Linked DNA regions of Homo sapiens: region 2 is linked to region 1. Evidence: promoter capture Hi-C in 16 types of primary human blood cells and fetal thymus (Javierre and others, 2016). All regions are on one chromosome and are shown on one strand. Each heading gives the region's core, a stretch centred on a gene start or on the middle of the fragment in contact. The rest is flanking DNA. Distances are from core to core; before and after follow the strand shown.

Region 1 (3,837 bases), core at 801-3,300:
ACACCTGTAATCCCAACCTTTTGGGAGGCCAAGGCGGGTGGATCACCTGAGGTCAGGAGTTCAAGAACAGCCTGGCGAACATGGCGAAACCCCATTTCTACTAAAAATACCAAAATAATAATAATAATAATTAGCTGGGTGTGGTAGTGTGTGCTTGTAATCCTGTAATCACAGCTACTCAGGAGGCTGAGGCAAGAGAATCGCTTGAACCCGGGAGGAGGAGGTTGCAGTGAGCCAAGATCATGCCATTGCACTCCAGCCTGGGCGACAGAACTGGATTCCATCTCGGAAAAAAAAAAAAACCTGAAAAGAAACTCAGTGTGGCTGGAGGAGGGAGAGCAGGGGGCTGGAGTGGGGAGGCCAGAAAGCTAACAAGGCTGGGCCTTGGCCATTGCAAGGACTGGCTCTTGTTCACCCCAAAGACAGCTGAGCCTGAGAGGGTGAGAGGTGCTGAGTGCAGTTGAGTTGAAGGCCACCTGCATGCCTTGACCCTCATCCAAGTATTTCTGAGCCTCCCCTCACCCCAGGACCCAGCCCAGGCAACAGGTGGAAGATGCTCTTCTTCTGGGACCTCAGAGGCGAGTGGGTGGGTGGGGAGGAGGAGGTCGAGTGGGGACAGCTGCCCCAAGGGAGAGGCTGAGGATGGAACAGGGAGGGCACTGAAGTGGGCTGGGTGAAGGACAGGGGGCTGGAGGGTGAGAAGAGGGTGGGGTACTTACCGCCTGTGCCCGGATGCTTGAACCATGTTTTGTCTTTCAGATTTGTAGATGCTGAGGAGCCAAAGAGAGGTCACTAGGGCTGGAGGACACAGAACTTGGCCCCACACTTCCATCAGACCTTGGTCCCCAGGGGAGAAGCCCTGGGGCAGCTCCTGCTAGTGCCACTCCCTTAACCCAGCCAAGGAACAGGGAGGGAGGAGCGGTGCTCAGCCAATGAGGCGACGCCCTGGAGCCCCACCCCACCCATGCTGGCCCCAGGACCCCAGCCCCAGGCCAGACCCTCCAGTGCTCCTGCTGACCTTCCGTGTCTGCAGCCCGGCTTTGGACTGTGGAGATGCCCTCAGCCTCTACTCAGTGGCTCCAGCCTCATATTTGCGTGCTATACCTTTAACCTCAAGTCCTCTTGCTGCTAACTTAAGCTGCGACTGTCCAGGACCTGCACACACACACACATGCACGCATGCACACACACACACACAGAAGGTGAACACACAGGATGAGGCCCTGAAAACTCATTTCACCCGTGTACCTCACCCAAAAATTCCCCTTTGTACTCCTATCTTTATCTCTAACTGACAGCATGAAGGTAGCCCGAAGTCCCCTCACCCTGTCTGTCCTCCTGATTCTCTAGCCCAGTTCCCTCTAGCTCCAGCACAGACTCTTATCTCCAGCCCTGACTGCCGAAACCCTCCAGCCCCAGCTCCAGCCCCTCAGGAGGGGACTGCGTGGGAGGAATGACTCCAGCAAGCCGGCAGCTGACCCGTCTCCTGCCTGCACGCCTCCCGCTGTGGTCCACTGCCGGTGGTCTTCAGCTCTCTCCTCGTCCCACCCCCATGGTCTGCTGACAGCCCAGCTCAGTGCATCCCTGCCATCTCTGCTCTACCGCTGGTCCTCCCAACAACCAACTTACAGGTAAGGAAACTGAGGCCCAGAGAGAGGGTGTATGTGCCTGTGTCACACAGCAACACAGGACTGCACCATAACAAGAAAGCCGGGACTTCCACTCCCAGACGGGGCTCCTTCCCCAAACAATCCCTCAGTCACCTCCTCCCTGTATGGTACCCAGGGAATGGCCCTTCCAGATCTGGGCGCTGAGGAGGCTGCCCCATCCCCACCCTGCCTGGAGCCCCACTCACTCTGCTGAAATGTCTCTGATTCTCAGCCTCCGCCTTGGGGGCTTCTCAGTTACAGCGCATCTTGATCTTGTTCCTCCGTGACTGTCCCTGGCTCAGCTTCCACCCCCAGCTGGGGCTCAGCTATCCCTGTGTCCCCAGTCCAGAGCCTGCCTCTCAGCTCTCCCAGGGCGGCCTCGAGCGCTGCTCCTGCTCCTCCAGGGGAGAGGTCAGTAAGGCAGGGGTTTGGCTGGTGCCACTTGAACCAAGTCCAGATGCACTGCCCAAAATAACATCCCTCGTCCGGCCAGCAGTGCCGTGGAGACCGAGTTCTGAAGCAGGCCTTTGTGAGGTCAGAGGTGGAGCTCTGGGTGGGCACTCTGGGCCTCTCAGTCCCAGAGGAAAGGCCTGTCCTCCAAGCCAATGTGCAGCCTGACTCTGGGGCCAGCGCCTGAGGAAGCCCTCCCTGAGCCCCAGCCCTGGGGAAGGCTGAAGAGGCCTCTGAGCCCCCAGCGCTGGGGAGAGCTGTGCAGAATAGGACTGGAGGTGGAAGTGTTGGAGATTAACAGCCAGGTGGAGGGGACGGGGGAGGCCCTGGGTCAGTCCTCAGGGAACCCCCATTGTGAAGGGGGAAAGGGAAACTCAGGCCCAGTCCTCAGGGGCCCCCAGTCTGAGAGGAAGGAGGACACACGAGCCATATTTGCAGAGAAACACCAGCCTGCGAGAGGAGGTAGAAGCCCAGGCCTGGCCCTCCGAGGGCCCCTAGTCTGAGGAGCAGTCCACCTGTCCTCGGGAAAACACCTCCCTTAGGAAAGGCCAGCAAGGCCCCCGTAAAGGACCCAGAGCTGGATCGGGACATCGGGCTCGGGGCTCAGCGGTGTGGGAGCTCCGGGACCGAGGTGCAGTCAGGAGAGACCCTGGGGGCCAGCAGCAGTCCCAGAGGACTTTTGGAGCCAAGGCCTGACTGGGTCTCAAACAATGGGGCAGGCAGTTTGGGGTTTCAGCAGGTGGCCCAGTGCTGAGACACAAGGGAGGTGTTTCTGGTCTGCAGACACTGAGGACGCTTGCTATGTGGCGTGGTGGACGGTGGGTAAGTCCTGGGAACTTCCGGCACCAGGCTCCATGGGTGGGAAGGGGCATAAGATTCAGTTGTCCAAAGCTCAGGTCTGGGAATGGAACTGTCCTGTAGAGGGTGCCAAAGACCAGGTCTGGAACCTGCATAGCCCCAGTCCCCACCCCTGCACACACCCTCCCACCCCTTCCAGCTTTTTCTGCAGATCTTTCTGCAGGGGTGAGGCAGGGAGAGGAAGGGGTCGGCCACAGTCCCGGGGCTTCCTAGTCAGAAGCCCTCTGTAAGGCACTAACTTCCCTCTGCAGATTCTTTTTTTTTTGAGACGGAGTCCCGCTCCGCCCAGGCTGGAGTGCAGTGGCACAGTCTTGTCTCACCACAATCTCTGCCTCCCAGTTCAAGTGATTCTCCTGCCTCAGCCTCCCAAGTAGCTGGGATTACAGGCATGCACCACCAAGCCCAGCTAGTTTTTTTGGATTTTTAGTAAAGACGGGGTGTCACCATGTTGGTCAGGCTGGTCTCGAACTCCTGACCTCAGGTAATGCACCCGCCTCGGCCTCCCAAAGTGCTGGGATTATAGGTGTGAGCCACTGCGCCCGGCCTCCCTCTGCAGATTCTACGTGGGCTCAAGATTCAGCCTTTCTTCCTCAGGAAGGGAGGGGTGCACGCTTGGAAATGGGAGAGTCCTGCCTTTTTTCCTTTCCCATGTGTGCTCCCAGGGCCGGGATGAGGTCATGTTAGAAGTGGATCTGGGGTCTTGGATGAGGTCAGCACTTGGGCAGAGTTGGAATGGGCTGGTGTCAGGTTGGTGAGGGAGGGAATTGGGATCCATGCTGGGGTCAGAGATCAGGCTCTAAGCTCTTTTACAGGGCTTGACCCTGGGGACTGAGAGGTGGAGAAGACACAGTCCCATCTGTCTCACGGCAGAGACAGGTAA
Region 2 (3,949 bases), core at 466-2,965, 120 kb before region 1:
CTGCCTTCTTTCAAGTCCATCGATAAATGAGAGAAATTATTAGCTGCCAGTTTTCTTGGTTACATTTTTTTTAAATGTTGACTGTTTCAATCTCAGAGTTGGATGCACTAGGTGATGAGCTTCTGGCTGATGAAGACAGTTCTTATTTGGATGAGGCAGCATCTGCACCTGCAATTCCAGAAGGTGTTCCCACTGATACAAAAAACAAGGTGAAAGCTTTTTCTGTTTATATTTCAATGCAAAATAGCAAAGGCTTTATGCTTGACCATAAGTCTGGGAATCTAAAAGGTAGTCTTAACATTAGAACAAAGAAAGACAGTCCTGGTCATTATTTTGTGAACCCTTGAAGGTCCGGTTTTTCTGCATTGGATGATGAACTGACTGCATAAACACTGTCACTGAGGCTCAGGAATATTTTTATAGAATGACAATTTGTGTAACATACATGATCACCCTTGTTGTGAGCTGGCACTGGGTACCATTGATGGGTCTTAGACATTTCCTGTAAAAGCGTAAGCAACACATGCATGAGACTTGCTAGGCAGCAGTGAAAAAGTCTCACTCTTCATACACACCAGTTAATTACTGGCTGGATTTTTAATTTTATTTTCCTTTCTTTTTCTTTTTTTTTTTTCCTGTACACACAGGAGTTTAGAATGGGTGGATTTTCTAAACTATGGATTAATAATTTAAGCATAAAACTTAATGTAGAAAGATTCTAATTTAAGGCAAAAGAATCAGAACACCTGACACTAAGTATGACTAATTACTTAGCTATTGTAAGCTTTTCTTTTCCTTGCATCTGTAAAATGCAGATAATTACAAGTATCTCACGTAATTGTTGTGCAAGCAAATTAGATCTTGTATGTAAAGGACTGTGCAAACTTAAAGCTCTGTCCAAATCTACATGATTGTCTTTTTTTTTGAGACAGAGACTCATTCTGTCACTCAGGCTGGAGTGCAGTGGCGTGATCTCAGCTCACTGCAACCTCCGCCCCCCTGGTTCAAGCAATCCTCGTGCCTCAGCCACCCCAGGTAGCTGCGATTACAGGTGCGCGCCAACATGCCTGGCTAATTTTTGTATTTTTAGTAGAGACGGGGTTTCACCATGTTGGCCAGACTGGTCTCAAACTCCTGGTCTCAGGTGATCTGCCTGCCTCAGCCTTCCAAAGTGCTGGGATTACAGGCATGAGCCACTAATAATGACAACCAGGCTGGGCAAGGTGTGACTTTGAGCAAAATAGCAGAAATTTATGTCTTCTTTTTGAACCTCATCAGTTTTTCCTACCTGTAAAATGTGAGAGCAAAGGGCAGGGAGCAGGTAATTTCTTAGGTCCATTATTACTGGTTTCTGTGAGTATGCATCTTCCTCTATTGTATCCTTCCCTTCTCTGTTGAGCCTGGGATAGTCTTGCCTTTCTGAACTGCCCACTCCTCCCCGACCTCTCTGGCAACTTCAAGGTCCCAGGTCCATGGGTTGCTTTTTCTCAGCAACCCATGAAATAATTTTTATTAATACTACCATAGTCCACCTTGTTAATTTTCTAGTAACAAGTCCCTGTAGCGGCCAGGCGCGGTGGCTCAAGCCTGTAATCCCAACACTTTGGGAGGCTGGGGCAGGCGGATCACGAGGTCAAGAGATCGAGACCATCCTGGCCAACATGGTGAAACCCCGTCTCTACTAAAAATATAAAAAATTAGCTGGGCGTGGTGGCAGGCTCCTGTAATCCCAGCTACTTGGGAGGCTGAGGCAGGAGAATCACTTGAAGCCGGGAGGCGGAGCTTGCAGTGAGCCGAGGTCGTGCCATTGTACCACTCCAGCCTGGGCAAAAAGAGCAAAACTCAATCTCAAAAAAAAAAAAAAAAAAAAAGTCCCTGAAGCATCTATGTTATTTCCACTTTGAGAAGGTCACAGATTCCTGAGTTATATATGCTGTGGATATATGGGGGTTTTGTTGTTGTTGTTGTTTTATCTTTTTGAGATGGAGTCCCGCTGTGTCACCCAGGCTGGAGTGCAGTGGCACAATCTCAGCTCACTGCAACCTCCACCCCCGGATTCAAGCAATCCACCCACCTCAGCCTCCCAAGTAGCTGAGATTACAGGCATGCTTCACCACACCTGGCTAATTTTTTTGTTTTTAATAGAGATGGGATTTCACTATGTTGGTCAGGCTGGCCTCGAACTCCTGACCTCAAATGATCCACCTGCTTCAGCCTCCCAAAGTGCTGGGATTACAGGCCTGAGCCACCGCGCCCGGCCTGTTGTTGTTTTTAAAGTAAAGGAATAAAAGAATGGCTACTCCATAGGCAGAGCAGCCCTGGTGTTTTCATTGATAGTGATGTCGCTGCCTATGATTATAGTAAAGCATGATATGGAAGTGACTGCCTATCCACGGGCACTGCTCCTTCAAGGATTTGGGAGGCTAAGAAAGGTATTGGTCCAGAGTGAAAATGCAAATCTGGAGGCAAGGACCCACTCCTCAACCTTTCCTTTTTGACTCTCCCAGCCTCCTTTTCCCCTTTCCAGGTTTACTCTTAGATTTCTCTTTCTCCCTCTTTCACTCTCTTTCCCCTGTGGAGGAGCCCCCTTTTGGCCCTTTCTAGTTCTCTTCTTGATTCATCACTTCCTCCTTTACCTTTCATGAAAAAGCTTGTTCTCATCTTATGACTGCGATTTTGGTTTTGATTGATTAAATACTTGGAAATGAGTTTTAACTATTAAATGTTTGTAATCCTTTTTTTTTTTATCAAATAGAAAAATAGTGGCACTAAACATTGCTTCCTTTTTACAGGATGGAGTTCTGGTGGATGAATTTGGATTGCCACAGATCCCTGCTTCATAGATTTGCATCATTCAAGCATATCTTGTAAAACAAACACATATTATGGGACTAGGAAATATTTATCTTTCCAAATTTGCCATAACAGATTTAGGTTTCTTTCCTTTCTTTGAAGGAAAGTTTAATTACATTGCTCTTTTATTTTTTCCATTAAGAGACTCATTGCTTGGGAAATGCTTTCTTCGTACTAAAATTTGATTCCTTTTTTTCTTATGAAAAACGAACTCAGTTTAAAAGTATTTTTAGCTCGTATGACTTGTTTTCATTCATTAATAATAATTTGAAATAAAACTAAGGAAATGGAATCTTAAAAGTCTATGACAGTGTAACTCTACAGTCTCAAAATGACCTGATAAATTGATAAGACAAAGATGAGATTATTGGGGCTGTTCATATTATGATTCAGAATCATTTTCTATTGTGGTATTATAGGTTGGTTAAAGTGATGGCCTTTTTGATGGGTTTTGTTGTGTCTTGTGAACAAGTCGTTACTGTGTCCATTATTGGAATGGAATTATCACTACTGTATCATGAGTGGGTATTTTGATTCTATGGTTCCCTCAGTATTACATCTTGACTTGTAATCAATTATGAATATTTCTTGATATTTAATGTATAGGACATTTATTTATACTCAATAAATATTTTTCAAAAGGATATAATTTTAATAATATCACTTCAGCTTAAAACCTCTACTGCGGAAACCAAATTTAATAGAATTTTAATGTCATTTCAGCCTATAACTCCACTACAGAAACCAAATTAACCAGTAGCATTGTGAGGAAAGAGCAAGGAACAATCTGGGCTTGGGCCCTGGGTCTACCATTTACTAACTACTGAGTAGTCTATTCAACCTCTCTAACCTTCTGTTTCCTTATTAGTAAAATCATGCTTAACTCACAGAGCTTTTGTGAGGAATAATTGAGGTAATGGTCATAAGTACCTTGTTAACTGCAAGGGGCTATTCTTATATGAGGGATTGTTAACAATAAAAAAGAAACTGCTTCATTCTTTTCTTGGAAGGTGCCTGGAGTACTACAGCAAGTTCAAACTCCTGCCCAATTTCAGGGTCTTTAATGATCCTGTCCTCCCTTCCTCATTCAACTTGT

The links. The method cuts DNA at HindIII sites, captures the fragments that hold promoters and counts their contacts. A CHiCAGO score of 5 or more calls a contact.
Region 2: a fragment that was not itself captured here is called in contact with the fragment with the promoter of AQP7 in region 1 in 1 of 17 cell types (endothelial precursors); the score reaches 5.7 in endothelial precursors.

Annotation. Positions count from the first base shown.
Region 1 is chr9:33,400,518-33,404,354 of GRCh38, forward strand. It overlaps AQP7 (aquaporin 7), which reads right to left and starts at 2,051. Exons shown (of 8, transcript NM_001170.3): 1 at 1,856-2,051; 2 at 720-770. The coding sequence starts at 745. It overlaps LOC105376020 (a long non-coding RNA gene), which reads left to right and starts at 1,004. Exons shown (of 3, transcript NR_188543.1): 1 at 1,004-1,305; 2 at 1,391-1,631. RefSeq lists a silencer at 974-1,268 and an enhancer at 3,819-3,837. The HindIII fragment of the contact is 7,387 bases long and covers 1-3,837 here.
Region 2 is chr9:33,278,017-33,281,965 of GRCh38, forward strand. It overlaps CHMP5 (charged multivesicular body protein 5), which reads left to right. Exons shown (of 8, transcript NM_016410.6): 7 at 97-209; 8 at 2,793-3,949. The coding sequence ends at 2,843. Among named protein-coding and RNA genes, the nearest start is that of NFX1, 11 kb to the right of the region's middle. The HindIII fragment of the contact is 1,866 bases long and covers 783-2,648 here.